Regions from separate parts of the Homo sapiens genome. Here all the other regions are linked to region 1. Evidence: promoter capture Hi-C in human tissues and cell types (Jung and others, 2019). All regions are on one chromosome and are shown on one strand. Each heading gives the region's core, a stretch centred on a gene start or on the middle of the fragment in contact. The rest is flanking DNA. Distances are from core to core; before and after follow the strand shown. Region 1 holds the start of TULP1 (TUB like protein 1). Region 2 overlaps ZNF76 (zinc finger protein 76). Region 3 has its middle 17 kb from the start of ARMC12. Region 4 holds the start of FKBP5 (FKBP prolyl isomerase 5). Region 5 overlaps FKBP5 (FKBP prolyl isomerase 5). Region 6 overlaps PPARD (peroxisome proliferator activated receptor delta).

What was found. Contacts are between HindIII fragments. The study calls those that stand out against the background at their distance.
Region 2: a contact is called between a fragment that was not itself captured here and the fragment with the promoter of TULP1 in region 1, in 1 of the 25 tissues and cell types used here (dorsolateral prefrontal cortex).
Region 3: a fragment that was not itself captured here is called in contact with the fragment with the promoter of TULP1 in region 1 in 2 of the 25 tissues and cell types used here (H1 embryonic stem cells and pancreas).
Region 4: a contact is called between a fragment that was not itself captured here and the fragment with the promoter of TULP1 in region 1, in 1 of the 25 tissues and cell types used here (IMR-90 fibroblasts).
Region 5: a contact is called between a fragment that was not itself captured here and the fragment with the promoter of TULP1 in region 1, in 2 of the 25 tissues and cell types used here (dorsolateral prefrontal cortex and pancreas).
Region 6: a contact is called between a fragment that was not itself captured here and the fragment with the promoter of TULP1 in region 1, in 1 of the 25 tissues and cell types used here (spleen).

The regions. Positions count from the first base shown.
Region 1 is chr6:35,511,273-35,515,422 of GRCh38, reverse strand. It overlaps TULP1 (TUB like protein 1), which reads left to right and starts at 2,527. Exons shown (of 15, transcript NM_003322.6): 1 at 2,527-2,611; 2 at 2,733-2,784; 3 at 3,153-3,243; 4 at 3,617-3,775. The coding sequence starts at 2,565. The HindIII fragment of the contact is 7,738 bases long and covers 1-4,150 here.
Region 2 is chr6:35,276,776-35,280,925 of GRCh38, reverse strand. The region is part of intron 1 of ZNF76 (zinc finger protein 76); the gene reads right to left. Among named protein-coding and RNA genes, the nearest start is that of DEF6, 19 kb to the left of the region's middle. The HindIII fragment of the contact is 5,242 bases long and covers 1-4,150 here.
Region 3 is chr6:35,717,465-35,721,614 of GRCh38, reverse strand. It overlaps a transcript of FKBP5 not described here. Among named protein-coding and RNA genes, the nearest start is that of ARMC12, 17 kb to the left of the region's middle. RefSeq lists enhancers at 873-1,112, 3,551-4,116 and a silencer at 2,869-3,163. The HindIII fragment of the contact is 4,059 bases long and covers 13-4,071 here.
Region 4 is chr6:35,688,558-35,692,707 of GRCh38, reverse strand. FKBP5 (FKBP prolyl isomerase 5) reads left to right here and starts at 3,793. Exons shown (of 11, transcript NM_004117.4): 1 at 3,793-3,904. RefSeq lists a silencer at 3,564-4,150. The HindIII fragment of the contact is 9,341 bases long and covers 1-4,150 here.
Region 5 is chr6:35,672,154-35,676,303 of GRCh38, reverse strand. The region is part of intron 1 of FKBP5 (FKBP prolyl isomerase 5); the gene reads left to right. Among named protein-coding and RNA genes, the nearest start is that of MIR5690, 9.4 kb to the right of the region's middle. RefSeq lists a silencer at 3,999-4,150. The HindIII fragment of the contact is 6,359 bases long and covers 1-4,150 here.
Region 6 is chr6:35,365,725-35,369,874 of GRCh38, reverse strand. The region is part of intron 2 of PPARD (peroxisome proliferator activated receptor delta); the gene reads right to left. Among named protein-coding and RNA genes, the nearest start is that of PPARD, 25 kb to the right of the region's middle. The HindIII fragment of the contact is 4,387 bases long and covers 1-3,861 here.

The DNA.
Region 1 (4,150 bases), core at 1,278-3,777:
AGTGAGACTCCATGTCAAAAAAAAAAAAAAAAATTCCTTCCTCAGGGCAGGGCATGGTAGCTCATGCCTGTAATCCCAGCACTTTGTGAGGCCAAGGCAGGCGGACCACTTGAGGTCAGGAGTTTGAGATCAGCCTGGCCAACATGGTGAAACCCCTTGTCTACTAAAAATACAAAACATAGCCAGGTGCCTGTAATCCCACCTACTCAGGAGGCTGAGACAGGAGAATTGCTTGACCCTGGGAGGCAGAGGTTGCAGTGAGCTGAGATCGTGCCATTGCACTCCAGCCTGAGTGACAGAACAAGACTCCATCTCAAAAAACAAAACAAAACAAAACGAAACCTTCCTTCCTCAGGCAGCCTTGCCTGTACTCTAAATCCAGACTGGAACCCACCTGCTGGTCTCGTGGAGCCCAGTTCCTTTCCTTCTTGGCATTTCTCACAACTAATAATAATGAGATCATTATCACTAATTTGGGTATTTATGTCTCTACTATCTGTCTCTCTCACAAGCATGTAAGCTGCACGAGGGCGGGGACCACATCATGTTGTTCATCTCTGTATGACCATTATTTAGCATAGCGCTTGGCACACAATAGGTGCTCAGGAAATACTTGTTGACTGACACTCAGCTGTCAGTTTCCTCACCTTTAATATCAGGGTGTTTTCGTTTGGTTGTTTGGTTGTTTGGTTTTGTTTTTGAGACAGGGTCTCACTCCATTGCCCAGGCTGGAGTGCTGTGGCACTGTCTTAGCTCACTGCAGCCTCTGCCTCCTGGGCTCAAGTCATCCTCCTGCCTCAGCCTCCCAAGTAGCTGGGACCTCAGGCATGTACCACATTGCTCAGCTAATTTTTAAATTTTTTGTAGAGACAAAGTCTCACTATGTTGCTCAGCCTGGTCTTGAGCTCCTGGGCTCAAGTGATCCTCCCAAAGTGCTGGGATTACAGGCATAAGCCACTGCTCCTTGCCCTAATATCAGGGTGTTAATGTCTGTCTCATAAATATTATTGTGAGGGTGGAGTCAGAATGGGAGCAAGCCACAGTAGGTGGACAATAAATGCTATTATTATTATATGGTCAGAGCCAACTGAGGACTGAGGCCTCTCCGAAGTGGCGACTTGAGGACTGTTTAGAGTTGGATAGGTTTCATGGAATAGGGAGGGCGTTCCGGGAGGGAACAGCCTGAGCAAAGGCATGGAGGACAGAACTGTAAAGGCAGTAAGGAAACCTCTGTGGCTGGATGAAGAGTATGGCTTGGGATAACCCTGTGGTTAGAAAGGCAGACTGGGGCCAGATCAGGGAGAGCCTTGAATGTCAACCCAACACATTTAAACTTAATCCTTAGGCAGTAGGGAGCCAATGAATGTTTTTGAACAAAGGTGGCAACCGAAGAAATAGTATTTTAGAAAGTTCCATTTGATATGGATTTACTGTAATTAGCCAGGATCGTGCCACTGCACTCCAGCCTGGGTGACAAGAGCAAAATTCTGTCTAAAACAAAACAAAACAATACCACAAAAGCATGTCCCCTATCAGTGAAAAAAGAAAAAGAGTTAAGGGTATACCTCCAATACAGACATATTCTTTTTTTTTTTTTTTTTTCTGAGATGTAGTCTTGCTCTTTTTGGCCAGGCTGGAGTGCATTGGCAAGATCTCGGCTCACTGCAACCTCCGCCTCCCAGGTTCAAGTGCTTCTCCTGCCTCAGCCTCCCCAGTAGCTGGGACTACAGGTGCCCACCACGATGCCCAGCTAATTTTTTATTTATTTATTTATTTATTTTGAGACGGAGTCTCACTCTGTTGCCCAGGCAGGAGTGCAGTGGCATGATTTCCGCTCACTGCAAGCTCCGCCTCCCAGGTACACGCCATTCTCCTGCCTCAGCCTCCTGAGTAGCTGGGACTACAGGTGCCTGCCGCCATGCCCGGCTAATTTTTGCATTTTTAGTAGAGATGAGGTTTCACCATGTTAGCCAGGATAGTCTCGATCTCCTGACCTTGTGATCCGTCTGCCTCGGCCTCCCAAAGTGCTGGGATTACAGGGGTGAGCCACCGCACCCGGCTAATTTTTGAATTTTTAGTAGAGACTGGGTTTCACTGTGCCGGCCAGGCTGGCCTCGAACTCCTGACCTCAAATGATCCACCTGTCTCAGCCTCCCAAAGTGCTGGGATTACAGGTGTAAACCACCGCACCTGGCTCTAGTTCTTATTTTTTGTGAGAAATAAAGATAAATACAGGATCCAGTCTAATGTTTTCTTCCACATCCCATTGACAAATGACTAATCGGCCCCTCTCACCCCAAGCTTCTGGGGGCTTCTCGGGGCAGGTGGAGCTGGTGGCCATCCTGCAGGCTGCTGGGGATCTGAGAAGAACTGGAGTTGAGATTCTTCCCCCAGTGGCCTGGGCCTAGCAGGGGAGGGTCGTGGGCTGTAGCACCTCCCACAGCGCGGCCAGGCCTCCACTCCTTGAGCAGGGGGAAGGGGGGTGAAGTTGAGCCGAGATTAGCAGGAGTCGGGAGGGAGGCTCCTAGACCTGCAGAGAAAGGGGTGCGATAGGCAAAGGCACCATGCCTCTGCGGGATGAAACCCTCCGAGAGGTGTGGGCCTCTGACAGGTCTGGAAGGCCCCCAGTTCGTGGCACCTGAACCCTGGGGGGCCTAGATGGAGGGATGGGGAGTGGGTGGGATGGGGAGGGAAGGGGAAGGGAGACAGGCTGATCCCTTTGCTACCCTCAGTGGGCATGAAGAAGAAAGCCTGAGCCCGGAGGCCCCGCGGCGCCCCAAACAGGTATGCCACCCCACTTGGAAAGGAAGCAGAAAGATGTCCCCGCTGTGCGTAAACCCACGCAGGGTAGGGGGTCTAGGGGTGGGACAGGTCCCCCTTAGCAGGGTCTGGGGGTTGCATGTCTGGAGATCTGGGGGGAGAAAGGGCTGTTTGGGGACTTGGGGTTTCCAGGGAAGGAATAGGGACTTTGGAGCATTGGATATGGCCACGATGCATGGAAGGGGTCATCCTGCCTCACTCCAAGAAGGGGGCTGCAGTTCCCCCCGGATAATCTGCGGTTATTTCTGGCGGCTCAAGGGATTAGAGGGGGATGGGCGGGCCTCAGCGCCCCCCTTTCCTTCCTCGACCTCCTCTTGACCCCCGTTCCGCAGCGACCCGCCCCGGCACAGAGGCTAAGGAAGAAGAGGACGGAGGCCCCCGAATCCCCCTGCCCCACGGGATCCAAGCCCCGGAAGCCCGGAGGTGGGCGGGGTGCAGAGCCCGGGTGGACCCCCAGGGTGTGGGCTGCGGAAGGGAGGGGCTTGAGGGCCGGCGCGGGTGTCGCCGAGCCCTGGAACGGGGTGGGGGAGGAGGGGGCGGGGAGTGATGAGAGGGGAGGGATTGGGGTTGGGGTTGGGGTTGGGGTTGGTGTAGAAGGGGGTGGCGTTGGGGTAGAAGGGGGTGGGAAGCTGAATGGAAGCCGGGGAGAAGTGTTGAAAGTGGAAACCCAAGCCCAGGGGAGATCCCTAGGGTGAGGAGCCCGAGGGGGTGCGCCCAGGCTTGGGGGTAGCGGGTAGAGGCGCTGCCTCGCGGACCCGCGGATGGGACCCTGTCTGAACCCCGCATCTCGGCTCAGCTGGGCGGACGGGGAGGCCGCGGGAGGAGCCTTCCCCAGACCCAGCCCAGGCCCGGGCGCCGCAGACGGTCTACGCCAGGTTCCTCAGGGACCCCGAGGCCAAGAAGCGCGACCCCCGGGAAACCTTTCTGGTAGCCCGTGCCCCAGACGCGGAGGACGGTGAGAGAGGGCCCCAGGGACGCGGGTGAGGGGGCGGTGGAGCTAAGGAGAGAAGGGGCTGGCTGGACGGGAACGGCCCAGAGAGGCAGAAAACAACTGTAGTCAAATAGCCCCCACTTTTCTGGCCTTATCTTTGAGCCAGGTATTGTGCTAAGCACCAACTATGAGAGGGTGCTTTGTTCCCCCCCTCCACCATTGTACAGATGGAGAAACTGAGTCATAGAGCCGTTAAGGGTTTTTGCCTTAACCAGCAGTTAGGAGCCAGAAGTAGCCCAGATGGGTCTGACTCAAGGTCAGAAACAGACAAGGTCAGGGAGAAGCACAGTGGATGCAGGGAGATGGGGAAAGGAGGCAAGGCGAGCGTGTAAGGAGAGG
Region 2 (4,150 bases), core at 660-3,159, 230 kb after region 1:
ATTGGTTTTTATGAAAAGGGCTCAAAATACACATTATCTAAGAATTCTAAAAGTTAAGCATAGAAGAGAAGCATGCCAATCAAACTGGTCATAAAGTAAGAAATCACTGATCAAAACCCATTTCTAAACTTTCTCCCCTTAGGAAGGAGCCCTGCTGAAGGCAGGCAGTTAACCCCACTGCTGATGGTTCTCTCTGCCTACTCCAACATCTCTCCTGTGCTCGGACCCATTTATCTACTGAGCTTGTTAACCATCCTCAGGGAACATCCCACATGTACCACACGTGGAATAAGTCCTCAACAGAACTCACAATGTGTCCCAACCTTCCAGAACTATTGTACTTCCAGTATCCCCTATCCCAGGGGTGGTATCGCCTTCCACCCAGAACTTCAGGGCGGGGGGGGGGGGGATCATGCTTGAGTCCTCCTTTTCCCTTAAAAGTCCAGGTACTTATTTCAGGCATGTCTCACCTTTCACCTCTGGACAACTATAAGGAGCCTTATAACTTATGTCCTCAGATAAACTTTTGTCTGTTTCCAATTCATTTTCTTTTCTTTCCTTTTTTAGAGACAAAGTATCACTCTGTCGCCCAGCTGGAGTGCAGTGGCTCCATCACAGTTCACTGTAACCTCGAACTCCTGGGCTCAAGTGATCTTCCTGCCTCAGCCTCTTCCAACTCATGTTCTAACATTCATGTTTATGCTGTCAGGGTGAATTTAAAAAAAAAGCTCTCTTCCCACTATCTTGGAGCCTGTAGAGGCCTGCTGAGAACAGGACTTCCAAAAGGCAAATATGGGCGGGGTGTAGTGGCTCATGCCTGTAATCCCAGTGCTTTGGGAGGCTGAGGCAGGAGGATTATTTGAGGCTAGGAGTTCAAGACCAATGTGGGCAACACAGCAAGACATTGTCTCTACAAAAAAAAAAAAATTAGCCAGGTGTAGTGGCACATGCCTGCAATCCTAGCTACACAAGAGGCTGAGGTGGGAGCACTGCCTGACCCCAGGAATTTGAAACTGCAGTAAGCTTTGATCATACCACTGAATTCCAGCCTGGGTGATAAAGAGACTCTGTCTCAAAAATAATAATAAGATAAATACAATACATTTGGAAGGCTGTAGTCCAAGGCCATTTTTTGCTAGCTGTAAGTGGGGCCTCCAGAACCAAAGCGAGGACACAGCTCTTATTAAAATTGAGGTATTGGCCAAGTGCGGTGGCTCACGACTGTAATCCCAGCACTTTGGGAGGCCGAGGACAGTGGATCACGAGGTCAGGAGATTGAGACCATCCTGGCTAACATGGTGAAAACCCATCTCTACTAAAAATACAAAAAATTAGCCGGGCGTGGTGGTGGGCACCTGTAGTCCCAGCTACTTGGGAGGCTGAGGCAGGAGAATGGCATGAACCTGGGAGGTGGAGCTTGCAATGAGCCAAGATCGCGCCACTGCACTCCAGCCTGGGCGACAGAGCGAGACTCCGTCCCAAAAAAAAAAAAAAAAAAAAAAAAAAATTGAAGGTATTTATGCTCGAAATGAAACTAATTCTATTTAGGCAAGAGATGTACTTACATGTATAAAGCAAAGAACAACACACTGACTGCTGGCAGCAAACTGAAGAAAACCAGCATAATCTGGGGAAAGGTAAACTCAGGCCCATGGAAACAGTGGCATGGTTTGTGCTAAATTCCCAAGCAATCTTGCTAAAGCTATTGAACACAGAATCTGTGTGACGCTGTGCCCCTCAAGGACTTAAGCTAATGAAAAGTAAATAAATAAAAGTAGATTTATAAGAAAAAAAGAGTACAAATCTAAACATACCACTTCCTTGACTAAAACCCTTCCATAGTTTCCTACAGCTCTTAGAGTCCACCTTGCATACAAGGCTGGGTTGTTATAAACTCCCACAGCCTAGGTACCACCTTTTCCTAGCACTCACACCTCTGGGCTCAACCTACTTCAGTACTCATCACTATCTGTTTAATGTCCGTTGCCTACACAAGGCTTTGGGCTCTAGCCTGGTTTCTGCGTCACAGTGGTTTCTCCAGCAACTCACACTGTGGGCTCTCCACACATCCTGTGAGTGACTCCCTGGGTCCCTCATGTGCAAGGTGGGAAGCACTGAAGCTTCCTGCTGGCAGGATATCTTCTGTACCCACTGTGGTGTGCAGCCTGCTCTAGCAGTGGACCCCAACACTTGTGAAGCCTGCAGGAAGCCCACGGCCTCTAAACTCAGTGCAGTCGTGAAGACTCTCTTTGACATCCATTCTCAAAATTCTCCTGGACTTGGAATCTGGACTGCCTACTGGATTCTCACGACTTACCAACCGATATCTTTGACTGGTGCTACCCAAACTGTTTTCATGTCAGGGGACCTAGAGAGACAGATATTTGTACATTGCATTGCAGATGCTGCTGCTTAAAGTCAGAAGTTCACATTGCAGATGTCACTGCTTCAAGCCAGAAGCGACCAACTGGGGCTTTGACAGCCCTGAGGGGCGAGCGGATCAATATCTTGGCAAAATTATAGACCATCCAGGAGTTCGAGACCAGCCTGACTAACATGGAGAAGCCCCGTCTCTACTAAAAATACAAAATTAGCTGGGCATGGTGGCACATGCCTGTAATCCCAGCTACTTGGGAGGCTGAGGCAGGAGAATTGCTTGAACCTGGGAGGCAGAGGTTGCGGTGAGCCGAGATCGTGTCATTGCACTCCAGCCTGGGCAACAACAGCGAAACTCCGTCTCAAAAAAAAAGAAAAAAACAAAACAAAAACTGGCTGGGCGTGGTGGCTCACACCTGTAATCCCAGCACTTTGAGAAGTTGAGGCGGGCAGATCACAAGGTCAGGAGATCCAGACCATCCTGACTAACAGGGTGAAACCCTGTCTCTACTAAAAATACAAAAAATTAGCCGGGCGTGGAGGGCGCCTGTAGTTCCAGCTACTCGGGAGGCTAAGGCAGAAGAATGGCATAAACCTGGGAGGCGGAGCTTGCAGTGAGCCAAGACTGCACCACTGCACTCCAGCCTGGGCGACAGAGTGAGACTCCGTCTCAAAAACAAACAAACGAAAAACCCAAAAAAACCTATAGACCAACTGCGACACGCTGATTGGAATGCTCTACCCCAGGCATGGCATCTCAACTAGAATTATTCATTCATTCTGTCCATAAACATTTACTAAATGGGCTAAGGTGCAAGGGCAGCAATACTATTATATAGTGAACACTACTATAGAGTTAACCACGTGCTAGGAATGTCACATACATTAACTCATTTAGTTCTAACAATCCTACAATCAAATGCTATGATTATCCTCATTTAAAAGTGAGGGAACTGGAGGCCCAAGACCAAGTTAAGTAACTTGCTCAAGGTTACACAGCTAACTAGTAAAGGAGGATTTCACCCTAGGCCATTTAATCCAGAGTGTGACCTTAATTACTATGCTGCGAAGCACAGAGGTGAAGCTGGGGGTTTATGAAACTTGAAGCTACTCCAAAATACTTTTTTGGTGTGTGAGCCTTTGCATTTTCCAGGAGAGAGGGAAATCCAAGGCTGTCATCAGGGTCTGATAGGGATTAATGGTGAAGAACCACTGGTCAAGGTGGGGATTCTGACATCTGACATCTCTGGTCTATTAGCATCCTTGCCCAGAGCCCTGATAACCTCCACGTGGTCCCTGTCTCACAAGAGCTCTGCTCCTGGCCTCTCTTGGTCTGCTCTGACCTTCAAGCTTCACTCTCTTCATCAGGTAGATTCTTTGGGTAACCCGCTTTAGTGTAACTGCACTGTGTCAGAAGACACATAAGAGAAACCAGGTCTAAAAACAAAGCAGGCTGGGCACGGTGGCTCATGCCTGTAATCCCAGCACTTTGGGAGGCCGAAGTGGGCGGATCACTTGAGATCAGGAGTTCGAGACCAGCCTGACCAACATGGTGAAACCCCGCCTCTGCTAAAAAAAAAAAAAAATACAAAAATTAGCCAGGTGTGGTAGCACATGCCTAGCTACTTGGGAGGCTGAGGCAGGAGAATTGCTTGGACCCAGGAGGCGGAGGTTGCAGTGAGCCAAAATTGCATCACTGCACTCTAGCCTGGGCAACAACAGCAAAACTCTTGTCTCAAAAAAAAAAAAAAAAAAAAACCCATAAATAAATAAA
Region 3 (4,150 bases), core at 793-3,292, 210 kb before region 1:
GCGTGGTAGCGCATGGCTGTGGTCCCAGCTGCTCGGGAGGCTGAGGCAGGAGAATCATTTGAACCCGGGAGGCGGAGGTTGTGGTGAGCCGAAAGCATGCCATTGCACTCCAGCCTGGGCAATAAGAGGGAAACTCCATCTAAAAAAAAAAGCCACTATTTTGGGGTGTGTGTATATGTGTGTTTTTTAAATAAAAAAATCAAGTTCAGCAACCATGTGTCCTAAATTATCTAGAATGGTCAAATTTCTAAAATTCTTTTTTTTTTTGGAGACAGAGTCTCGCTCTGTGGCTGTGAGTGCAGTGGCATGATCCCAGCTCACTGCAACCTCCACCTCTCGAGTTCAAGCAATTTTCCTGCCTCGGCCTCCCAAGTAGCTGAGATTACAGGCGCCTGCCACCATGCCTGGCTAATTTTTGTATTTTTAGTAGAGACGGGGTTTCACCATGTTGGCCAGCGTGGTCTCAAACTCCTGACCTCAGGTGATCCACCCGCCTCAGCCTCCCAAAATGCTGGGATTACAGGTGTGAGCCACCGTGCCCGGCCCTAAAATTCTTATTGTCTTCTGGACAGTCATCTTGGACATGCTCTGTGTTCCATATCATGACTTCAAGCCTTGCCTTTTTCATGTACTACCAGTGGGATCCTAGACTAGCACTTTACCACTTTAAGCCTCAGTTTCCTAATTTGTAAATAAGGAGTAATTGTAATCATTCCAATATCACAGGCTTGCTGGGAGGATTAAATGAGATCATCCACATCAGGGTCAGCACAGTGCCCGGAATGGGGTACCTGTGAAATTAATGGTGATTCTTCTTTATTGTTACCTTGGAAAATGGAGGCCAACTGCAGGATGATCGTGGCTCCAAGGAGCTGGGGACCCAAGACATGCACAGAGAAAGAGAGACCAACAATGTGAGGCCTCTGATGCATGAGACAGGCAGGGGAGTAGTGGGAGGAGAGAGCAAGAGTGAGCAGCCAGGAGGGCCTCTTCCCTTCCCTTTACTCAGCCTGTCACTCCTCTGCTAGGATCCTGCATTGACACATCTTGTACTTCCTGTTTCCAGGGAAATTCCTCGCTGCCGGACTGCGCCCACCCTTGAGGACCTCACATTCTCTTTGGGCAGAGCGGAAGCCAGACAGAGACAGGGACTACGAAGCGACAATCCCCAGCCCTGTGTGTGCAAGGAGCCCCCGAGGGGCAGGCAGCCACGCTGCAGAAGGCTAGACTCTCCGACCCCCAGGGAGCCTGGTGTGGGCTGCAGGGACAGAACGCTTCTCAGAGGAGGTAGGGACCCCATGGAGTACGTGACGCCTGGCCCTCCAGCTGCATGCTCCAGTTATCAGGACAGAGACCCCTCCCCACCCATTCCCAGGCTTCCCTGGCTCCCTGCTCTGCTGCTGGGAGGCCCTGTCACCACACATGCGCGTGCACGCACTAACATACACACACCCCTCTCAGGCACCCCCGGAAGACCAGCTGCAGCTGGGGGTGGGGGTGCACGGAGCACAGCCAGGGTTCTCAGATCCCTAGCCTGCTCTCCCACCCCGCCCTAGCCCCCAACTGCCGAGCTGCTTCTAGTTTTAAAGCAAAACATGACTCTGTCCTTCCTGCTGCTCAGTGGCAGCAACACTGCCTGGGGTTATTTTTAGCAGGGATGCAGGGAAGGCACAGTTCTCCTTGACTTTAACTAGGGACAACCCCCACCCCTCAGCCAAGACTCACTGGAGGAGGCCGGGTACGGAAACCCCCCTCCCAGAAAGGGGAAATGGTGTGTTTTCTGTTCCTTCAATTCACTAGAATGGGAGTTGCAGTCAAGCTTGGGGTTGAACTGATGGGAAATTCTAGGTTCCAAAGCCTGTGGGCTCTGCCCCATCCCTGGTCTCTGTGTTTCCATGAATCCGGGAAGCAAGAGGCACATGGTGTCTGGAGTCGAGGTGCCCTGTCTGTGGGTGTTGGTGTCCCTGGGAAACTGCTTGGTTATAGCCAGGCTCTGTGGACTACACAGGGGCACCAGGCATTGTGGGTGGTGTTTCACAGGCGCTGGCTAAATAATTCATTAAACTGAGCATGTCCGTTCCGTGTATTTTTCTGTATGTGTATCTTTTAGATGCTAGCAGTACTTTATGAGGTATAATGTACATACATTCCACATCCAGTAAAATGCACAGATCTTAAGTGTACAGCCTGATGAATTTTGACAAATATATCTGCCCATGTAACCATCACCTAGATCAAGATTTCAGACATTTTCACCACCTCCAAATTCCTTCGTGCCCCCTTCCAGTCAGTCTCTACCGCAGAGGCAACTGATTCTGATTTCTATCACCATAGATCATGTGTGTGTTTTACAAAGTTAAAAGAAATACAGCTGCTGTCATAGAAGAGGGAAATGAGCAATAAAGTTCTTAACATGAAAGGGAGGCCTCAAAAAAGGGGTTACTGGAACTGGAAAAAATGAAGGTATCATTGGCTGGGAAACAGGAGGTTTCAGACCCAGCCCAACCCCTCAGGGTTGGGACCAGAGGGCTTGGGACACTTCTTGGAGCAGAGAGGCTGTGAGTTGGGAGGGGGCAAGGGGAGGGCCAGCTGTGGCTCAGGCCCAGCTGCCTCCTGTTCTGCTAGAGGTCCCTGCCCCTCCTCCAGGCCCTCCCCACTGCACAGTTTCAGCAAGGCCAAGGCTGCAAGGAAAGGTTCTCTCAGGGGCATCTACCCAGAGGCAGAGTTTAGGGCCCCTGTGTAGTTAGATTATTTGTTTTTCTTGCCTTCCTCTTCAAGGTTTGGAACTCCTGTATCCTTTGTCCTGCCTGGGGAGGGGAGAGGCTGAGGCTGTCAAAGTAGAGTGCTAAGGAAGAGTCATGATGCTTTTCATTCTTTCCTTCCTTTCTTCATTCAAAAACAGTTATTTGAGCACCTGTGTTGTGCTGTAGATTCTGCTAGGTGCTGAGGATAGGAGAATAACTAAGCCACATTTTAGCTTGCTATGGAGTCCGAATTGGGATTCCCAGGTGAGGCCGGGCCTTATACCTCCTTTGTATTGGAGATGAGGGGCCCAAAGAGGGGAAGTGACTTATTCAGAATCACACAGCTAGCTGCTGGCAGAGGAAGGCAAAGAACAGGGATCCCTGATTCAGCCCTAGATGGGGATAAGAAAGCAAAGGAAACCAAACCAACAGCCGATTCCCCGGTGTTCCCTCCTGCAAGCTTTTTAGGGTGACAAAAATCACTGACCTGGAGTAAGAGGACCTCATTTCTACTGCTAGGTCTTAGAAACACTTCCTCTCTCTGGGCCTCAGCTTTCTTCCATGAACATGCGGGAGGCAGCTTGCAGAGGACCTCTGGCTCTCGCGAGCACACCCTGCATTTTCCCGCCTCTGTGCCTTTGCTCGAGTTGTTTCTGCCGCCTGGAATGCCCCCTTTCCCCTACCACTTCCTTCCTCTGACATTCTCCTAATCGTTTATGGCCTAATTCAAATGCCGCCCCCAGAGGCCCCCCAGTCCTTGGACATCTGGGGAGTGGTGTCATCCAGGTCTCCACTACTAGAACAGAGACAGAGCTGCCTCCATTTTGCAACCCTCCCATCCTAGGGCACAGCCTTCCAGGGAGATGGGGTCTGTTTTGCCAGCCACCGTTGGAGGAATCGAAGGGACTTATTCCTCCCGCCCTACACTTTCACCTGCCCCTTTTCAATGTTCAGAGACTGATGTCTTCCTTCTGCTGGGCCTCCAAGACATTGTGCTTTCTGCTGGCCATGCCAGCCCAGGCTGGAGCATCAAACCTGGGCACTTCTGGCAAAGGTGGCTGCCCTGGGAGGTGACCCCAGGAAGGATGAGACGGCGGGGCCTCAGCCAGAAGCACAGCTGCCCCACCTCAGTCGTCCAGTCCTCATTCACAAACACCCGGGCAGAAATCCTCCTTCCACCACAAACACATGACTCCTGTTCCCACAGCCATGTCCAGACCCACTCCTACCTGCCTGCCCACAACACCGAGTTTGCAAAAATGTCCCCCACGCTCCCACAGCTCCCCTGCCCCTCCCATGGGTGTGCATTGCCACAGGTGCACATTCATTGCACATACACACAGGGTGCACACAGACATGCACGTGGGCATGTAATGGGCAACACAGATGTGGACACATGCGTGCAT
Region 4 (4,150 bases), core at 564-3,063, 180 kb before region 1:
GCAATTCTCATGCCTCAGCCTCCCAAGTAGCAGGGACTACAGGCGCACGCCCAGCTAATTTTTGTATTTTTAGTAGAGACAGGGTTTCACCATGTTGGCCAGGCTGGTCTCGAACTCCTGACCTCAGGTGATCCGCCCACCTCAGCCTCCCAAAGTGCTGGGATTATAGGCATGAACCACCACGCCTGGCATACTCTGACTCTCAAAAACCTTAATGTACAAAGCTGCCTTTAAAAGGATTCTGAAACCAAGATGAAGGTAGCTCGGTAGTAGTTGGAACAGGGCTTGCCTGGGCTGAGTTCAAGTACAAGCTCTGCTACTTCCTAGCTGTGCCACCTGGAGAAAGTTGCCAAACTTCAATTTTTTCAAGTAATAAATGAAAATAAAGAGTAACACTGGCCTACCCCATTGTGAGAATCAAATGATAAGTTCGGGCAAGGTGGCTCACACCTGCAATCTTGACAGTTTAGGAGGCCAAGGTGGGAGGGTCTCTTGAGCCCAGCGGTTCCAGGCCAGCCTGGGTAATAGAGTGAGCCCTTGTCTCTAAAAGAAAAAGGAAGACAGAAAAAGAGAATCAAATGATAAAATGCATGTGAATGAGTCTAGTGAATGCGAAGTGCTTTTAAAATGAGATGTGGTTTGAGCAGTTCCACAAGCATGCCCAGGGTCACTACCAGTGACAGGCAGGACTGGCCATATAATTTGCAGGGCCCAGTGAAAAATGAGAGTGCAGGGCCCTTTGTTGAGAAAGTACTAAGAATTTCAAGACGGCGGCAGCAGAGCATTAGACCCAGCACAGGGCTCTTCTAAGTACACGGCCCTGTGTACTACACAGGTCACATACCCATGGAACTGGTCTTAGGTACAGACCCTGCAAAGAACCGTACTGTGCCTTAGGAAAGGGCTGCTCATCCCACATCCAGGTATCTGCAGCCATAGCGCATGTCATCTTTGAATTCTGAAGGGCAGTAATGTTTAGGGAAAATGCAAGCACATGTGTTTCCAAATGCCAAGGAAGGCAAGTGCAGTGATCAGAGTGGTTTTCTGGGAGAGTGGGTGGGGCTAGCAAGGCTGCCATCGGAACTGTGGAACTGACTGTTCTCCACAGACTCTGGCCTAGAAAAAAAAAGAACCGTGTAGCTGTATCTACAGGGCCTGTTGTTGTTGCTGCGGTGTATTACAACACAGCCTGGCAGCCTCCCCTGCCTTTCTGTCTTCCTCCTGGAAGAGCCTGGTCCCAGACATGTGACACGTCCACACAGCCCTCTGCAGATTTGCCCACACTGCTCCTCACTGTTCCCTCAATTATTAGGCTTTTCCAGGTCTGCATGCTTTTTGCTCACGCTGTCCCCTCCTGCCTGGGAGTCCCTTTCCCCCTTGTCCACACCCCTCTGTCTGGCAAACACCTACTTCATCTTCTAAGATTCAGCTCTACTGTCAGGTGACCTCTTCAATGACGCCTTCCCTGCCTCTCGTAGGAAGAGCTGATTCCTCTTTCCTTGGCGCCTTCCATTGTGCCCTATGCAGACATCTGTCACAACCCCTGTAACATGAAGAGGAGAACTGACATGTTACGTGTATGTCACTGTCTCCTAATGAAGCCCTTGAGGGTTGGGACATATATACCCTGATAGCATAGAGCTTAATATGTGCTGTTATTTTTATTTTATTTTATTTTATTTATTTATTATTATTTTTTTTGAGATGGAGTTTTGCTCTTGTTGCCCAGGCTGGAGTGCAATGGTGCCATCTCGGCTCACTGCAACCTCCGCCTCCCGGGTTCAAGCGATTCTTCTGCCTCAGCCTCCCGAGTAGCTGGGATTACAGGCATGCGTCACCATGCCTGGCTAATTTCGTATTTTTAGTAAAGATGGGGTTTCTCCATGTTGGTCAGGCTGGTCTCGAACTCCCGACCTCAGGTGATCCGCCCACCTCTGTCTTCCAAAGTGCTAGGATTACAGGTGTGAACCACTGTGCCCTGCCTAATATGTGCTATTATTAAGCATAGTAGATGCTTAATCAATTGGTATTAGTATGCAGAGGAATTTTGATCAACTTTGTTTTTCTGCGTTAATGAACAAATACATTGTTTCAGTGACTCCCCTCGGCAACTGGTAAACAGGGAAGCTTCTAGGCACTGAGGACAGACAAATGACTGAGACAGAACCCCTGCCCTCGAGGCGGTTTCAGTCTTGGCTTTATTTGTCTTTTCTGCAGACATCATCACCCTTTTTTTTTTTTTAGAATGGAGTCTCGCTCTTGTTGCCCAGGCTGGAGTGCAATGGTGCGATCTCGGCTCACTGCAACCTCTGTTCAAGCAATTCTCCTGCCTCAGCCTCCTGAATAGCTGGGATTACAGGCATGCGCCACCATGCCCGGCTAATTTTTTAAAATTATTTTTAGTAGAGACGGGGTTTCTCCATGTTGGTCAGGCTCGTCTCGAACTCCCGACCTCAGGTGATCCGCCCATCTCGGCCTCCCAAAGTGCTGGGATTACAGGCGTAAGCCACCGCGCCCGGCGCCCAGGCATCATCTCTTGAAGGCAGCATGGCGATTTCTGGACGAGGCTCTTCATAAATGTTTGAATGCAGTATAGTGCAAAGAGAGCAGGTTTGGAGCCAGGAGACATGAGTTCTAATCTGGCTATGGGATATTAGGTTTCCATAGGTAACTATTAGGTCCCACGTGTAACTAGCTATGGGACATCAGGTTTCTGTTTCCTTAAAAATGAGAGAGTTGATTAGAGATTCCCTAAGGCCCAGGTGCAGCTCCTGCATCTCTATGGGAGTAACTCAGAGGTAGCCATCTGGTTGGCAGTCTACCTTTCGGAGTTGGCGGAAGAACTCAGCCGTTTTGTTTTTGTTTTTGTTTTGAGATGGAGTCTTGCTCTGTCACCAGGCTGGAGTGCAGTGGCGTGATCTCGACTCACTACAACCTCTGCCTCCCAGGTTCAAGCGATTCTCCTACCTCAGCCTCCCGAGTAGCTGGGACGGCGCGCGCCACCAAGCCCAGCTAATTTTTGTATTTTTAGTAGAGACGGGGTTTCACCATGTTGGCTAGGATGGTCTCGATCTCTTGACCTCGTGGTCCGCCCACCTCGGCCTTCCAAAGTGCTGGGATTACAGGCGTGAGCCACCCCACCTGGCCGAACTCAGCCGTAAGGCCTCTTCCTGTTTTAATCTCCTGGGATCTCCTGCTTGAAAGGTAGCAAGCCAAGAGAAAGTATGGTCTTTACAGTCACTGGGTGTCCAGAGGGAGGTGATATCTGCTAAATTGGTTCTCGAGGTGGGATTTCCCCAGTCCCGACTGGGCATCTTAGACTTAATGGGGTTGCTTCCTAGGGCTAACCTGGCCAGCTGACCTAACAAACAGCCTGGCCTGCCCCTCTCCGGCCTCTAGGTAGGCCCTGTGGACAGATAGGAGGGGCAGTGCCTTCAGAGAGACGATACAGATGGGAAGTCAACTAGCTTGCTTAGGCATTAATTTCTCGGGAGGTAAGAGATGTGAGGGGGTGTCAGTTTCCACCATCCCTTCTCTATGGCCCCCACAAAGGGCAAGGGCCAGACACGTGGGCTGGCGTGGGGAGGTGGAGGAGCAAATGATGGGGGCGGGGCCTCATTTGCATGGACGGCGCGCGGCCACCAATCCGGACAGGCGGATCGACAGCCCGCGCGCCTTTTGGGGGCGGACTGACAGCCCCGGGGCCCTATGGAAGGCGGGTCCTGCGGCCGGCTGGGGCGGGACGGCGCCGGGCGCTGCCCCGGGGATTCGGGCCGGCTCGCGGGCGCTGCCAGTCTCGGGCGGCGGTGTCCGGCGCGCGGGCGGCCTGCTGGGCGGGCTGAAGGGTTAGCGGAGCACGGGCAAGGCGGAGAGTGACGGAGTCGGCGAGCCCCCGCGGCGACAGGTACCGGCGCCATGGCCACGGAGATGGGGCGGCCGGCCGCGGCGCCCCGGGAGCCGAACGCCCTCCTTCCAGGTCCCGCCGCGGTCGCACTCGCTGCCTCAGCTCCCACCCCCACGCGGCTTCGCAGCCCAGGAGCCGCGTGTCGCGGGGGAGCGGGGTCCGGAAGCCTCGAGGGGAGCGCGCGGGAGGCCTCGGCCCCACTGCGGCGCCCCTCGCCGCGCCCCAGGGGCCGCGGGGCCGGTGCTC
Region 5 (4,150 bases), core at 728-3,227, 160 kb before region 1:
ACTTTTCTGTTTCCGATAGCGGTTAGGAGAAGAAATAATTAAAGGTGTCAGCGTTTCTAAAGTGGATTTAGATTTATTTATGTTTCTCCACTGAATTTATCCTGGACCCTTACTTTCACCTTCTATTAATATTTGTATCCACTCTCCTGCTTTTCTTGCCTTTTCTTTTTCTATTTGCTTTACACTATGACGTCAAATCCCTCTTTTTCTCTTCTTGCTGCTGCTTTTGTCCAGCTGTCCTTCATTACCCATATTTCATTATGACTGTGGAATTTATCAAATAGGCCCTTGAGTCTAAGCTATTACTGATTTAAATTCAGATGTCCCAATAGTTGTTAGGATTAATAGGACCCTTCTACTCTGTTATACAGCAACTGGAGAGAGGAGTCCTAGGGTTAGAGGGGGTGGGCAAGCCTGAGGGTAGAAGGAATGGTGTAGAAGAGAATTCCAAGGATTGTTTTGATTTTGCCCCTAAAATATAAGTTAAAATCCTAAGTTTCGATGATGATGACTTTTGCACTGATAAAAGTTTGATCCTGAAGTCATAATGGACTGTGAGAGTTTCTTGAAGGCAGAGCTGAACTTCTAATTCTGAATCCACAGCATTCAGTAATGCTGAAGTATTGCTGCTGCTAAGTGCAAGTTGAATTAAATTGTTAGGATTGATGCTTTCTTCCCTCAAGGTGTTTTGTGGTAGGCTGGGGATTAAGAGTATGGTATAGACTTGTTTTTTTGAGACGGAGTGTTTCTCTGTCACCCAGGCTGGAGTGCAGTGGCGTGATCTCGGCTCACTGCAACCTCTGTCTCCCAGGTTCAAGCGATTCTCTTGCCTCAGCCTCCTGAGTAGCTGGGATTACAGGCATGTGCCACCACGCCCAGCTAATGTTTGCATTTTTAGTAGAGACGGGGTTTCACCATGTTGGTCAGGCTGGTCTCAAACTCCTGACTTTGTGATCCACCCGCCTCGGCCTCCCAAAATGCTATATCTGTAGAATCCGTAGAATCCGGGATTACAGGCGTGAGCCACCACACCCAGCCTAGAGTATGGTATAGACTCGTGTAAGACTTCAGTGAATCTTATCACTACCACTTTGTGGTATGGGATAAGATACTTATTTTCTGTAAGTCTCAGTTTCCTCAACTATAACATGCGAGAGGGACAAAATGAGCACTTACCTCAAGGTTGTTGTGAGGATTAAATGAGACAATACATGTAAAGCACTTAGCTCAGCGCCTAGTATGTCTTCACTAAATATTAAATACTAGTGTAGTTTCATTAATAAGTACTGCTGTGTTCCAGATATTTATTAAGTTCTGCTAGGTTCTAAGTAGGGTTAACAAAATGAACAGGACATGATCCTGCTCTCAGAAAGGACAGAACATATGCACAAAAGATAATTAACAACCTAGATCCAATGGTAAGTGGCAAAGGAGTGGTTTACTTAAGGGCTCAAGAGGCTAAGCAAATGAGAACTTCAGGAAGGTGACAGAACTTGATCTCAGCTTTGAAGGACTAATTAGCAAGTTGACAGTCTCCTTGGAGCCAGACTGCTTGTGTTTGAATCCTAGTTCTGCTACTGTGTCATCTTAAGCAAGTGACGTGATCTCTCGCCTAGGATTGTTGAGAGAATTAAATGAGTTAATACATGTAAAACACTTAGAATGGTTCCGCAAACATTGTTAGAGCTTGATAAATTATTATTAATAAGTTGAGAGAAGGGAGAATGCATTTCAGATAGAACATTGAGTGATAATGAAGGGGAGATACTCTAGGTTTGTTTGAAGTGATGAAGCCAAATTGGTTAGAGGGATAGCTTGTTGGAAATTAGTGGATGAATATGTCGGGGCACAGTTATGAATAGGTAAGCCAAGAAGTGTGACATCTTTTCCATATGTACTGAGGGAACTTGGAAAGACTCTTGGGTTACTTGTCAACTCTTATGTGTTACAGATAATTTCTAAGTCTGTATCTCCAGCATTTCTACCTTCCTTGATTTCAAAATAACTGAAACTTCTATTCAAGCTAATTTTGATAGTAAAGCTCATAATCTTCTAAACTGGGCCATTATGCTTCTTTATTTGCTCATTTATTTTTGTAAATGTTTTTGGCTTTCTCTTTTTCTCTGTATTCTAGTTGTTTACATAATCCTCACTCCTTTTCTCCAAAGTTTAGTGGGTTTCTGCTAGTGTTTCCTCTCTGTCCTCAAAACCCCAGTCTAGATCCTAAATCATCAAGCCATAAGGTGGAAAGGACCAGAGAGAGGGAGAAAGGGAAGAAGGAAGGGAACCATCCTCTAGTCCAGCCATCTTGTTTTACAGATGAGGAAATTGAGGTTCAGAGGAAGTAGAGGCATATGCTCAAGATCCACAGCTACCGAATGAGCAGGGCTGCCCCTTTCAGGACTAGATGAAGGCTGTTTTATACTCTCATCTCAGTGTGATTCTCAGCTATCTGGGTGGGAATTATAGTAGTACAATAAATAAATTTTCTGTTATTACTATTAAGCACCAAGACAAAAAATAGTTTTATTACCAGGAACTATATGATAATAATTCAACCTTATTAATAAGCCCATGATTGTATTTCTCAGATGAGCCTCACTATTCTTAATACTTAAAACCAAGTCTCCAAAATCTGCTTTGAGAAGAGGGTTTCTTGCTTTCATTTTTAGAGTTGTAAATTATAAATATAATAGTATTATAAACATAAATAGTATTCTCAAAAGAATGGACTTTTTGTTTCTGTTTTCTTCTTTTTTTTTCTTTTGAGACAGGGTCTTGCTCTGTTGCCCAGGCTGGAGTGCAGTGGCACTCTCAAAGCTCCTTCCCAGGCTCAAGCGTTCTTCCCACCTCAGCCTCCCAAGTAGTTGGGACTAAAGGTGCACACCACCGCACCTGGCTAATTTTTAAATTTTCTGTAGAGATGGGGTCTCACTCTGTTGCCTAGGCTGGTCTTGAACTCCTGGCCTCAAGTGATCTGCCTGCCCTGGCCTCCCAAAGTGCTGGGATTACAGGCAGGAGCCACGGCACCCAGCCAATCTCTTAGATTTTAATATATGCCACACACAACACATAATGGTATGTTATGTATTCAAGCATTTTCTTCTACATTGTTTTTCTACCTAGATGTAATGTGATAGAAGGTATAAAGCCCTAAGCTTAGCGTCTGGCCATACCAGTTGCTCAATAAATATTCTCTTCCCTTTTTACAGGGCTGGTAATTTTTTCTCTTATATAATGTTAATTCCCAATCACCAATTCACTATCACATCACTTCCTTTTCTTCCCTGGAAACGTATGTTTAAATACATTTGCCCTCTCTGCATTTTGAACATTTGCATAATGTACAAGTACTTTTTTTCTTTTTTTTTTTTGAGACGGAGTCTCTCTCTGTTGCCCAGGCTGGAGTGCAGTGGCGCGATCTCGGCTCACTGCAAGCTCCGCCTCTCAGGTTCACGCCATTCTCCTGCCTCAGCCCCCCGACTAGCTTGGGCTACAGGCGCCTGCCACTACGCCAGCTAATTTTTTGTATTTTTTTTTTTAGTAGAGACAAGTTTTCACCGTGTTAGCCAGAATGGTCTCAATCTCCTGACCTTGTGATCCGCCCGCCTCAGCCTCCGAAAATGCTGGGATTACAGGCGTGAGCCACCGCCTCCAGCCACAAATACTTTTTAGTCGCCATAAGCATAATCAAGAAATCATTTTGCAAATGGTAAGCTTTTCATGTTGTGTATTCTTTCCCATGATTAGAGAGGTAAAAAGTGGCCTGGGATGCATAAAGATGTCGTAGACCTCTGCAATCTGCCACATTATTTCTTTAAAAAAAAAAAAAAGCAAGCTTCTGGACTAGATTGATTTTTACTGAAATATTAATTTTTCTTTATTATTTTTAAACACTGAAGTTGAATTGTATAATTCACAAATGCCTATACAAAACTTTTTTCCATGTCCTCAATACTTTGTATCAGATTATTTATATTTCTCATGGTTTGGTTTCTTTTTCTTGTCTTCATTTTTCTGAAGGTAAAAGGGGATTTTTTCCCCCCTTTTCTGATCTGTAACTTGTTTTGTATTTGGATGATTACCCTTTATAACAAATTTTATCTTCTAATTATGCTATTAAGCGAGAAGATAGTGGCCGGTCACGGTC
Region 6 (4,150 bases), core at 419-2,918, 140 kb after region 1:
GAAGGTGACTGTTCTCAAAGAGCTTTTGTTCTAGTCACAGATTCGGACAATTAACCAATAAATCAACAAAATAATTTCTGAGTGCAGAGAGCACTGGCTATAAGAGCAAAAGATGAGAAATAACCTAAACGTCTGTTGGCAGGACTGATTAAATAAGATTAGATATTCTCATAAGAATGAATACCGCTCTGCTATTAAAAGTGCATTCTTGAAAACTATATTCAAATTGCTAGGATATAAATGTTTAAAGCAGGTTTCAAAACAGTACCATGATTATGTCCAGTGACAGAAGCCAATCACAAAAGATCACATATTGTATGATCCCATTTATATGAAATGTCCAGAACAGGTAAATCTGTACGTAGAGAAAGCAGATGAGTGGTAGTCTTGGGCTGGAGTAAGGGCGGGATGGGGCATCGAGGCGGGAATGCACGCTAATGGATTATAAGATGTCTTTTTGGGACTAAGAAAATGTTCTAAAACTAGATTGTGGTGATGGTTGTACAACTCTGTAAATACTAAAAACCATCAAATTGCACACTGTCAACAGGTGGACTTTATGACTTACATCTCAACAAAACTGCTAAAAAGTAACATTCAATATGACTTCAATATGGTTTTCAAAAAGAGGGGGTGTGAAGGGTCATGAGGGGAAGGATGAATAGCCATTCAAAACATTAACCGTGGAAATTCTCTGAGAGGAAAGTTCTAGGTAATTTTATGGTCTTCCTTATATTTATCTTTATTTTCCAAATATTCTAAAATATAGAAGTTTATTTAACTGGCAAACCAAATTATCCAGGGTTTTAAAATCTACTTTTCCAAGTGTACCTTAAGTATGTCCAAGGCACAAGACTAGAAAGGTCCAACTGCTGTGCTAACCTAGGTATCTCTAGGGTTGTCATATTCTTCACACCAAAGATACCAACCAGACAGCCAAGCAAAGGAATTTCATATTTCAAATAAATCAGACCAAGTAGCTCCTGGTTAGGGAGTGTCTGCTGACTGCTGGAAGAGCTTGCTACTCTCTGCAAACACTTTCAAAGAAAAACACCCAGAGGCCACCATAAAGCTCAGATACTATCAAAGCATGCAAAACAACATCAAAGATTTGAGCAGATTCAAATAGAAACTTCCTGGACACTTTCAGGAGTCACTTCCTGGTTGTGAAGTGTGAGGCCCTCTGGACAAATCATTCTCTCCCATGTGGCCTCCTCTGATCAGTGACTTCAAAGGCATCTTTCTGAAATGACTGGGCTGAGGGAGGGTGCCAGCCTCTGGAAGTCATTGGTTTCCCAACCAGGCTGTACTCCCAAATCAATGGGGAGCTTTAAAGGCAGGTTCCTGGACGCCATCCCTGGGAATTCTAATTCAATAGGCATGAGGAAGGCCCAGGAATCTACATTTTCCCCAAAACTCCCTGGTGAATATGCCAGTTGAGTCAAGTATGGGACTCACTGGGCTGGATACCATCTGGGATAACTCAAAATAGGGCTAGCCTCCACATCTGGCTACAATGCAGCAGGAATCCCACCCAGTGAGCACTGTGCATCAAAAGGCCACTAAGCGCAGAAAGGGAAACTCCACAGGGAAATTCCATGCATGTCTGGCTATCACTGCTGAAGCTTGGGGGAAGCTAGCAAATCCCTAGAGCAAACCTATTTTGGAAGGTTCCCTAAGACACAGTGATCTTGGATGCTCATCTGTGAAAAGGGGGATGACTAGTACAACTTCCACTGTGGGAGACCACAAGAAAAATCAGCCCTCTCCAACCACACAAAAGAGCCAGCAAGCTTTGCAACTCCCAAGGAACCAGAAGCAGAAAGGGATGCAGTATGGCATGACAGACTGTGAGTCTGAGTCACACAGATCTGGGTTCAAATCCAGGTATCCACTACCGGCTGTCTGTGGATTAAATATGGCTACAAACCTTTTGCCACTCTTTCCATCAAGAGGTGGCGTCTAGTTCCCAACCTGGAATCTGGGCTGGCCCAGTGACAGCTCTGACCAATAGAACATGATTGAGGTGATGTTCTGGGACGTGAGCCCAGGCCTCAACACGACTGGCTTCCACTGTCTTGGCCCCCAGATGCCATGCTGCAAGAAGTTCAGGATAGACTCTTGAAGGATTAGAGGCCATGCAAAGAGAAGCTGCCTTGGACATTACAGTGCAGCTAAACACAGACAAATGGGCAAGCTTGGCCGACATCATGTGGGGCAGAACCAAGCATCTGGACCCAATTCACACAATCAAGAGAAAGGATAAATGGTGGTTGTTTTAAACTACTGAGTTTCACAGGTGATTTGTTACACAGCAGTAGGTAACTGAAACACTGTTTCTCCTTGAGCAAATGGATTTTTCTGAGCCTTAGTTTCCTCATCAATCAGATAGGGAATGATGATAACCTGAATAGGGTTGTGTGAGTTTCAACAGAAGTGAACGGGCTGTGAAAGTCTGAAGCGCAGGCCAGTGCCAGTTACCATCACTATCTGCGCAAACCCAATGTTCAAACCACCACCACACCACCATATCCTTTTTCCACATTTAGAGTCTTTTTGGGCCAAGGGTACCTCTTCATACACAAAGCACAGGAACTATTTATACTCGCCCTATAATTGGGAAGGACCCTGCCAACAAATGCCCCATGTTCCCAAATCACTCACCTTCTCCCATCACATCAGTGTTCCCTCCGGCCTCTCTTCTTCCTGTTACAGTGTTATCTTTGCCCCAGCCATCCAGGTTCAAAGAATCAACCTCTTACACTCCTCCATTTCCTTTTAGCATCCAGGGAACGGACAAAACCTCACCTCCCCAGTCACCCCCACCTTTCCACTTCCAGTGCCATCAAGGCACGGTCATCAAAGCCAGGCAGGTCTGAGTGCTGCTCTGCAACTTACTACCTTTATGACCATACGCAAGTCATAAGTCTGGCCATACGCAAGACCATATGCATATTAATCAGTAATACCTTCTTTTTGTGGTCATTTCGAAGAAAGAATATGCAGCTAAAGTATTTAATACAGAGGCCGGATGCAGCGGCTCACGCCCATAATCCCAGCACTTTGGGAGGCCAAAGTGGGTGGATTACTTGAGGCCAGGAGTTCAAGACCAGCCTGGCCAACACCGTGAAACCCCATTTCTACTAAAAATAGAAAAATTAGCCAGGCATGGTGGTACACGCCTGTAGTCACAGCCACTAAGGAGGCTGAGGCACTAGAATTGCTTGAACCCGGGAGGCAGAGGTTGCAGTGAGCCGAGATCATGCCACTGCACTCCAGCCTGGGTGACAGAGTGAGATTGTCTTAAAAAAAAAAAAAAGTATTTAGTACTACAGGCCAGGAATTTCTCACCTGTACTACTATAGCCATCTCCTAATCTAGGCCTCTGCCTGTGTATCTCTCTCCATTTTGACCCCTCTAGCATAAATGCTATCAGATTAATTGTCCTGTATAGCAACTATCACATTATTCTCCTGCTCAAAGACCTTCCATGGCTCACACTGTTCTCAGATCAATCTCTGACAACCTCTCAGCTAAGTATGTAAGATTGTCCACAATCATGGCTCCATCTGTTGCCTTGGCCAATCCTATCCTTACTGCAACTTGCTATTAGAGTCAGCCTTCTAAAATGGCTGGCAACAATCCTCACCTTCTGGTATTCACATATTTGTGTAAATCTCTCCTAACCCATAGAAACTGCGAGATAGTGTTTTAAGCTACTAAGTTTTGGGGTAATTTGTTATGCAGGAATAGATAACTAATACTCTTCATTTCCCCTGTCACACCTGAGCTGTTGTTCTTTTCTTCAGTCATATTTGCCCTTCCTACAACATCTCAGCCTGCTGAAATTCTGCCAGGCCTGCAAGGCCCACTCAGATACCAGCGCTCACTCACCCTGAGCCTTTCTTAACTATCCTCTGGAAGCCTTCCCTAGTTCCCCAGTGTCTATCTCCATTACTGCACCTATCACACAGAAGCATTGTCAATCTGTTTATCTGTGTGTAAAATGACAAGGTTATTCATTGCCAAAAAAGACTAGAAGTCACCTGCACATTCATCAATGAATAAGAGAATGGCACATCCAGGCCGTGCATGGTGACTCACGCCTGTAATCCTAGCACTTTGGGAGGCCGAGATGAGCAAATCATTT